3 separate regions of the Homo sapiens genome follow, and all the other regions are linked to region 2. Evidence: promoter capture Hi-C in 16 types of primary human blood cells and fetal thymus (Javierre and others, 2016). All regions are on one chromosome and are shown on one strand. The core of a region is centred on a gene start or on the middle of the fragment in contact, and the rest is flanking DNA. Distances in the headings are between cores, read along the strand shown. Region 1 overlaps NDUFB6 (NADH:ubiquinone oxidoreductase subunit B6). Region 2 holds the start of NFX1 (nuclear transcription factor, X-box binding 1). Region 3 overlaps UBE2R2 (ubiquitin conjugating enzyme E2 R2).

Region 1 (3,139 bases), core at 389-2,888, 720 kb after region 2:
TCGGAATATTGGCAGTCACTGATTTAAAGTTGACATCCCATCCATCAGCAAGTGATATAAGGAAGTAAATAAATAATAATGTGTCGAAGTTCACCTTACCTTACTTTAATTTATTCTTTTATAATCATATCTGTTATAATTCTTAGATTCTGGATTGTCCCTTCCTTGAATGGATAGGTGTTTTTTAATCAAGTTGGAAGACATGGGAAAGTTCCATTTTTAGTTCTTTTTTAAAATAGTGTTGCAGAGGGCATTTTGGAGTGAGTTTGGGACACCCCATCTTAGTATGTAAAACGTCCTTTTTCCAGCATTGGCGTTGTCAAGGTTGTCTGCCTTATACCTAAAATGATGTGAGTGTCATTGATCAATAAATAAGGGAGATGACTATACCTGAAAAATTCTGTAGGTTTGATTACTCTGGTTAAATACATTAAAATTATTCTTTCATTATTTTGCTATATTTTATCTTTAACAAACTTATAATAAGGATATTTTTGGAAGTCTTTAAAAAATCTATAAATGCCTTGTTATAGTCTTGCAAAATACTGCTTAAGCATTTTGGTCTGGACTTTGTAGGTATCTTCTAGCAGACTCTGCATTTACTAAGAATATTTGAGTAGATGAGGTTACCTACAGACTATAAGAAAATATGTGCCATTTAGAGTTTTGTAAAATAGTCATGGCATTGTTACATCATTGATGCCTTTTGTTCTGCCATAAATATAAAAAATGGGATATGTTTATTTTGTGTATGTGTTTTTCCCCCCAGGTCCATGGGGTATACAAAAAGAGTATCTTTGTTTTCACTCATGTACTTGTACCTGTCTGGATTATTCATTATTACATGAAGTATCATGTTTCTGTAAGTATGTCCTTTTCAGAATTCATTTTTAATATTGTCCAAAATTACTTTCTTTGTGGCTATCTTACCCTACTTAGTGGAAATAATCTGCCACTTATAAACAGATTTTGAAGTACTTTGAATTCTCTTAGGTAAAAGGTTTAATGAAAGTTACATAATTGGGTATAGTTTTTAAAAAATATTGTCACTAGTTTACAACTTGAAATGGATTTCCTCATAGAAATTAGTATTTAAGTGATAAGAATGTAGTGACCTAATAATACTAGGGTAAATTTGGAGTCATGAATAGGAAGGGAGAAAACAATTCTGCTCCTTTTTAAAAACCTGTATCTCGTATAAGGTAAAAATTCAAAATAGACAAAGCATATCTTTGTCATCACCCAATTTCTGTTCCCTTCATTTTATCTGATTCTTCACAATTTTTATTTATTTAGAACTCAGGATGTCCAGATGCCTGCACTTTTTCACTGATACAGATCTTGCATGGGCTGATGGAACTGAGCCAGTTGTGGTATTTTAAAGGCTTGGTCTGGTGCAGGGTGTTGGATCCCAGGCAGAATGAGAAGGGCATGCATTTTGGGAAGTGGCGTGGCAGAGGGAGCAGTGGTGACTGCGTAGCCTGAAGTGTTGGAGCACAAAAGAGTGAGGAGGGCATTCGTATACCAAGAGAGGGGTGTTAGATCCTCAGTGGGTTGCAGGGGAGGAGGGTGAGCACATCTGTTTGGGGAGCAACAGTGGCAACAGCCTAGTATAGGATATTGGTACCTGAGCAGAGGGAGGAGGACATCTGGAAGAAGGATGGTATGAGGCAGTGAGGCAAGTGGTAACTCAGAGCAAGATGTCAGAACCTGAATGAGGTGAGGCAGGTATTAATGCTGGGATGTGGTTGTGGTGACAGGAGATGGGTTATATATAGGGAGATTGGCCAAATACAGGCATACCTCAGAGATATTTCAGAATTGGTTGTAGAACAATGCAGTTCCAAAAGTATTCTTTGGTTCTAGACCACCAAAACGAGTTACACAAATTTTTTGGCTTCCTAGTGCATATAAAAGTTATGTTTACACTGTGCTGTGGTATAAGTGTGTAATAGCAGTGTAAAAGAACGATGTATATGCTTTAATTTAAAAATACTTTATTGCTGGGCCATGTGTGGTGGCTCCCACCTGTAGCCCTAGCACTTTGAGAGGCCAAGGTAGGAAGATTGCTTGAGGCCAGAAGTTCGACCGGCTTGGGCAACATAGTGAGACTCCATGTTTCCAAAAAAAAAGAAAAAAAAATAGCTGGATGTAGTGGTCCACACCTATAATCCCAGCTACTCAAGAGGCTGAGATGGGAGGATTGCTTGAGCCCAGGATTTCGAGGCTGCAATAAACTGTGATTGTGCCACTGCACTCTGGCCTAGGTGCCAGGTTGATATGCTGCCTTAAAAAGAAAAAACAGGCCGGGCACGGTGGCTCATGCCTGTAATCCCAGCACTTTGGGAGGTTGAGGCGGGTGGATCACGAGGTCAAGAGATCGAGACCATCCTGGCCAACATGGTGAAACCCCACCTCTACTAAAAATAAAAAAAATGAGCTGGGCATGGTGGCGGGCGCCTGTAGTCCCAGCTATTCGGGAGGTTGAGGCAGAAGAATCACTTGAACCTGGGAGGTGGAGGTTGCAGTGAGCTGAGATCGTGCCACTGCACTCCAGCCTGGCGACAGAGTGAGACTCCGTCTCAAAAAAGAAAAAGAAAAAAACAAAAACTTCATTGCTAAAAAATGCTAATGATCATTTGAGCCTTAGTGACTATGTATGATCTTTTTGCTAATGGAAGGTCTTGCTTCCATGTTGATAACTGCTGACTGATCAGGGTGATGGTTGTTGCAGGCTGGAGTGGCTGTGGCAATTTCTTAATATAAGATAGCAGGCGGGGCGCGGTGTCCCACGCCTGTAATCCTACCACTTTGGGAGGCCAAGGCAGGTGGATCACGAGGTCAGGAGTTCAAGACCACCCTGGCCAAGATGGTGAGACCCTGTCTCTACTAAAAATACAAAAATTAGCTGGGAGTAGTAGTGGGTGCCTGTAATCCCAGCTACTCGGGAGGCTGAGGCAGGAGAATCGCTTGAACCCGGGAGGCGGAGGTTGCAGTGAGCTGAGATTGCACCACTGCACTCCATCCTGGGCAACAGAGCAAGACTCCATCTCAAAAAAAAAAAAAAAAAAAATATATATATATATATATGCACACACACACACATATACATACACATATATATACATACGTATATACA
Region 2 (2,978 bases), core at 198-2,697:
TTAATATCCACATCAAGACTAGGGTACACCAATGCAGTGTGTTTTCCAACTTTTTTTTTTGAGACGAAGTCACACTCTGTCGCCCAGGCTGGAGTGCAGTGGCACGATCTTGGCTCACTGCAACTTCCGCCTCCAGGGTTCAAGCAATTCTCTTGCCTCAGCCTCCGGAGTAGCTGGGACTACAGGCGCGTGCCACCATGCCCAGCTAATTTTTTGTATTTTTAGTAGAGACGGGGTTTCACCGTGTTAGCCAGGATGGTCTCGATCTCCTGACCTCGTGATCCGTCCACCTCGGCCTCCCAAAGTGCTAGGATTACAGGCGTGAGCCACCACGCCCGGCCCTAACTTTTTAAACTAAGAACCATAGTAATAAATACATTTTACCTGCCACCCAGTATACAAATACATATATGGTCTTCTTGGTGCCCCAACGGCTGGTCAGGGACAGAGCTGAGATTCAAACCAATGGTTTCCAAACTCCATTCTGCAAACTGCTGCCCTGTTTTCCAGAGTGGGCCATAAAATCAAATGAAGGCAGTGGGCTGTGACATATTTTTAAACGAAACAGAAAACAGAATATATTGCTGATTGTAAAACAAACCAACCAACCTCACTGCTTCCAGAAACTTCTGGTTCGCTTTTATATTTATGTAAGTGTACAATATTTAAGGTCGCGATGCAAAATGTTTCTTTTGGTTGCTGTCCAACACATTTGGAAAACACTGATCTATGGAACACCCTGAGGAAATGGATGTTATATCAACGAACAAATGAGGCTGTCTCTACACACTGAGGCAACTCCAGGAGGGGGAGTGAGTGAACAATTACAGAATAGGTACAGTACAGGGCGGGAGCCATCACAGGAATTAACTTATCTACTCCCAACTGACAGATGAGGAGACTGAGACTGAGTCACACGGGGTTCGCAGCAGGCTGAGACTCTAAACTACTGGAATTCGGCTCGCGCCCACGCCACCACTCCAGGCGGTATGAGCACACCACACCCTACACGTCAAGAGCCCGCCACCGTCACTGGCTGTGACCTGGCCGACGCCCGCCTGTCGAAGGTCAGTGCGCCGCTGCCCCAGAAACAGCCTGTGGGAAGGCAGGGCACCCACATCGACTCGCAGCGCCGGGACAAGTCCTCTCTCCTCCGAAACCCAGCTACTGGGCTTCACCATCTAGTCCAAGAAGACACAGATCTTCGTACGCACGATGCGCGGGGCTTGGCCCTTCCGAGCCACTATCCTACGCCCTAGCATGTGCTACTCTCGCGATATGAGTGGCTGAGGCCCTAGAACTTCGTCACTGACCCAATTTCCGCTCCCTGAAAGGGGCCCAGTCCCGCTCGGGCCGGGACAATACCTGAGACAGGAGGCGCCTCCGCCATCCCGTGCCGCAGAACCTAGATCGAGCTGTACAGCCAAGTCAGCACTGTCACCAGGTCACGTGCCCCGGACTTCCGGCGCCGCGAGAATATTCGCATCTGCGCGCCGTGTAGACGGCCACAGAGGTTGCGCAGCCCGAATCTGTGTGGCGCGTTCGTGACGTCAGATAGACGCGCCAGGTGTCGGGCGGGAGGAGGAGACTAGTAGCTGGATGGAAATAGCAACAATCGCAGGAGGGAGGGCGGCGACTTGCGTAATCATTGTGGTTTTCCTTTTTTTATTTTTTGATATAGGGTCTTGCTGCCTTACCCAGGCTTGAGTGCAGTGGTCTGATCATGGCTCACTATAGCTTCAGTCTCTAATCCTCCCGCCTCAGCCTTCCGGTAGCTGGAACTACAGGCGGAGCCACCATGCGCAGCTATTTTTAGTAGAGACGGGTTTCGCCATGTTGCCCAGGCTAGTCTCTCCAACTCCTGGCCTCAAGCGATCCTGCCGCTTTGGCCTCCTAAAGTGCTTGGCTTACAGGCGAGCCACCACGCCTGGCTCCAGACTTTTTTTTTTTTTTTTTTTTTTACAAAGGCGTTTATTCTCATCAGTATCACCGATATTCTCATGGTTCACATTTGCCAACGCCGCTCCTCTCCTTACAGTAGTTAAATGTGCAATCTCACTTGGGGGCCCAGGGAGGGGTGGGGGCTCGGCCCAGGGTGGGGAGGGCGTTGGCACTTCACGTGGACAGGGTGGGCAGCCTGTCCTGCGTGAAAGAGGTGTGGGTGAGTGGGCGGCCAGGGAAGGGGAGTTGGCAGGGGAGGGCCCCGCAGTCTTTTTTTCTTTGGTGGTTGGTGATTCTCCATTCAGATTCCTTCCTGGCTTCCCAGGGTAGGGGAACCATGCAGCTCAGGGCAGGGCAGGGGAGGAAGAGAAGGAAAAAGCAGCAGGCCGCCCGGGGGGAAAGGTGGAGGGTGAACGGCAGGGCAAGGGGGAACGGGTGGCTCCTGAGGTAAGGCACAACCCTGTCTTTGGCTTTCCTGGTGAGGAGTTTCCTCCCCTGCACCCCCTGCCCGACGCTTCTCCCCACCCCCCCACCCCCCAGACCCACACACAGTCCCAGGAGCCAGGGGGCACCACCTCCTGGGGTCCCTGAAACAAGTGGGCTCTGCCACCCAAGCCAGTGCCGCAGGGGCTCGAGGAGGGACACCCGAGGAAAAGGCAGAGAGGGGCAGGCAGGGGCCTACCCAGGACAAGGGGGTGGGGGTGAGAAGACCCTAGGCCCAGGAGCTGGGCCCCCCGCCCCAACTAAGTCCTGGAAGTGGGGGAGCACCTGCTTCCTTTCGGGGGTCTGGCTGGAGCCCCGGTCTGCCCCTTGGCCTCCGTCAGGCCCAGCCACTTGCCAAGTGACCAGGGCATTGTGCTTTGGGGTAAACGCTGGGGTGGGGTGGCAGGCCAGGAGGCAGGGGGAGAGGAGGGATGACTAAGGTGCTTGTGCTTTAGCTGGGGGTGTCGATATCCCCCACTCGGGCCGGCTGGGGGCTAAGGTGCCAGGCCCCGGCCAGGAAGACAGTGCCAAGACCCCAGCAGACCGTGGCACTG
Region 3 (3,097 bases), core at 395-2,894, 530 kb before region 2:
CTCAGTCTCAAAAAAAAAAAATATATATATATATATGTCAGTGTTGAGTCTAATAAAGATGTTCCTAATAAGGAAAACTTTAAGTATACAACAAATACTTTCTAAATTATCAGACTGGAGTTTTCTAAAAATGGAACACATCTATATTTCATTACCTCAATCAAATTATTTAATAAAATCAAAACTATAAAAGGTTGGCCAGGAGTGGTGGCTCAGGCCTCTAATTAGGATTACATTTTGGGAGGCTGAGATGGGCAGATCACTTAAGGTCAGGGGTTCAAGACCAGCCTGGCCAACATGGTGAAACCCTGTCTCTACTAAAAATACAAAAAGAATTAGCCAGGTTTCATGGCGCACGCCGGTAATCCCAGCTACTCGGGAGGCTGAGGCAAGAGAATCGCTTGAACCCAGGAGGCAGAGGTTGCAGTGAGCTGAGATCGTGCCACTGCACTCCAGCCTGGCAAAAGAGTGAGACTCCATCTCAAAAAAAAAAAAAATTTTTTTTTGTTATGCATATCATAAAAGAGGCACTCTTTCTGGCTCTAGACTCACTGCTATAATGCTTTAGATAAATAATGCAAAAGTTCCAAGGAGGTTCAGTACTAAAGCACCCACACTAAGCTACAATCCTTAGCAGGAGTTATTTGAAAAGATAGTTCCAGCCGGGCATGGTGGCTGACGCCTGTAAAACCAGCACTTTGGGTGGCTGAGAAAGGAGGATCCTTTGAACCCAGGAGTTTGAGACCAGCCTGGACAAAATAGTGAGACCCTACCTCACTTAACAATACTGAAGAAAAAAAAATTAGCCGGGCGTAGTCATGCCTGTAGTCCCAGCTACTCAGGGGGCTGAGGTGGGAGGACTGCTTGAGCCTAGGATGTGGAAGCTGCAGTGAGCCATGATCACACCACTGTACCCCAAACTAAGTGACAGAGAAAGACCCTGAAAAAGTTCCTTTCAAAAGAAAGGGGGTGAACTTGTTAAAAGTCTTCATTAGCTACTGACTTGATCCACAATTTATTTTTCTAGTAACAATAAAATTCCGACTTGCTTAGGTAGCAAAATAAGAAACTACACAAAAAGATAGTAAGGCCAAAAAAGATTGTATAGTATTCAGAATGGACAGAAGAAACTATCTTTGCCCATCCTACATCTATATGGCCCAAAACTAAGAATCACGTGGATTGGCGATATTAAATAAGCGAAAGCAGGATGAATAAAAAAATTCTGTGAAATACAGGTCTCACAAATCTCCAATGCAGATCCTGTGGGTAAGAGACAAGAGCCAACTATTTCAGGGTGAAAAAGATCAGTTAGAAACCTATTAATATATAAAAGTTAAAGGAATTACAGTATGAAAAATGTAAAGAATGACTGGCAGTCCCACTGCCTTCACGAATGACTATGCCAAAAAGGGAAAAGAGTTTAACTTGAAAATAAATTATACTAAATGTTCAAGGACTAACATTTAATAAGGGAGAAGAGTGATATGGTAGGGAAAGCTTTGTGCCAACTTTCAACTGCAGCTGTAGTGAAATACACTAAAAGCCTTGTCTTAAGACAAAAGCAGTAAAATAAAAACAATGGTTTTAAACATATCCCCAGTGTCAACTGCTCATGACCATAAATTTGCCTTTTTCTAATGAACAACTAATGGGATAAAAGGCCATATAAGGGAAAAAGTAGTCGAAAATACAATCGAACAAACTTCTCACACAAGACTAAACCATAAAACCTGTTTACAAATTTTCATACATGTCAGAATTAAAGGTAAAAACACTCAAAGCTTAAGAAATCTAACATCACAAAGCACGAGATTAAATCATTCTTTTAAACAAGGACTGAAGTTCAGAAGCATTTAATTTAAATCAGTGTATTAACACAAGGAATCCTTCCATACTTCCTATTTCAGAGAGGGTTCTCCACACTCCTTTCCCAGACTTATGCACAAATATTACAACTTGCAACCCATTATTTTCTCTCATGTACAAGTTTTGTTTTGTTTTGTTTTGTTTGCTCTTGTTTTTAACTTTATTGGAGTGAGATTATTCTAACTAGTACCCATTTATTTATTTTAAATATCGGTTGTACCAAACAATGACACTTTTTGGAAATCAAACTTTATTCCACTAACATTAGCCAGCAGATTTTGCTAAACAATGTTTTGTCAGAAAAGGCATCATGGCCGGGCGCAGTGGCTCACGCCTGTAATCCCAGCACTTTGGGAGGCAGAGGCGGGTTGATCACAGGGTCTGGAGTTCGAGACCGGCCTGGCCAATATGGTGAAACCCCATCTCTACTAAAAATACAAAAATTAGCTGGGCGTGGTGGCGTGCGCCTGTAGTCCCAGCAGCTTGGGAGGCTGAGGCAGGAGAATAGCTTGAATCTGGGAGGCGGAGGTTGCAGTGAGGCGAGATCGCGCCACTGCACTCCAGCCAGGGTGACAGAGCGAGACTCCGTCTCAAAAAAAAAAAAGAAAGGTATCACATACATTCAATTTTGTACAACTAATTTTTCCAGTATGCATAAAAATTTATATTTGACAACAGAGAATATGCTTCATCATAAACACAGCAATATCTTTTCCACTTTGTTACTAATAAGTTGCATGTTTTCTTAGTAATTTTAAATACCTCCATCTGAAAAGTATAGGGTAGGCTGACCACAAAAGATGAAGCCTAACAGTTGGTAGGGGTACCGCACTTACATAATATTCTAAAAACGTGCTTTTCCTAGGTACTCAGTGACTATATACAGTAGTGAATATTAAACATTCCTGTATCAATCCCATTTCCTACAAAGTTGACCTAATTTCAAGCATAAAACTGAGGTTTCCACCTTTAGAAGGGTAGAAAACAAGAGTTAAGTAATTGGGTAGTCCTAAAAATACACATCACAACTACATGACTAAGATACTCATTTAAAACTTGTGCCAAGATAACCCCTCCCTTCCAAACTAAAATTGACTCACTGGCCTATTTTACTTAATTTTGAAAATAAAAAAATAAAACTAAATGGATTCCTAAGCACTCATTTCCTCTCTCTGCCCCCATCATTTAAAATATTCAGACTTTCAATCTGTGATTCCTCCCTGCAAAA

Evidence for each region. The method cuts DNA at HindIII sites, captures the fragments that hold promoters and counts their contacts. A CHiCAGO score of 5 or more calls a contact.
Region 1: a fragment that was not itself captured here is called in contact with the fragment with the promoter of NFX1 in region 2 in 1 of 17 cell types (monocytes); the score reaches 7.5 in monocytes.
Region 3: a contact is called between a fragment that was not itself captured here and the fragment with the promoter of NFX1 in region 2, in 3 of 17 cell types (naive CD4 T cells, total B cells and fetal thymus). The highest score is 6.1, in naive CD4 T cells.

Annotation. Positions count from the first base shown.
Region 1 is chr9:32,568,683-32,571,821 of GRCh38, reverse strand. NDUFB6 (NADH:ubiquinone oxidoreductase subunit B6) reads left to right here. Exons shown (of 4, transcript NM_002493.5): 2 at 770-862. Among named protein-coding and RNA genes, the nearest start is that of NDUFB6, 2.9 kb to the left of the region's middle. The HindIII fragment of the contact is 3,670 bases long and covers 1-3,139 here.
Region 2 is chr9:33,288,985-33,291,962 of GRCh38, reverse strand. It overlaps NFX1 (nuclear transcription factor, X-box binding 1), which reads right to left and starts at 1,447. Exons shown (of 24, transcript NM_002504.6): 1 at 1,366-1,447. The coding sequence starts at 1,390. It also overlaps the pseudogene LOC100862682. RefSeq lists enhancers at 1,172-1,221, 203-1,402, 1,372-1,421, 1,432-1,851, 2,557-2,978. The HindIII fragment of the contact is 6,050 bases long and covers 1-2,978 here.
Region 3 is chr9:33,819,021-33,822,117 of GRCh38, reverse strand. All of the region lies in intron 1 of UBE2R2 (ubiquitin conjugating enzyme E2 R2), which reads right to left. Among named protein-coding and RNA genes, the nearest start is that of UBE2R2-AS1, 1.7 kb to the right of the region's middle. The HindIII fragment of the contact is 284 bases long and covers 1,503-1,786 here.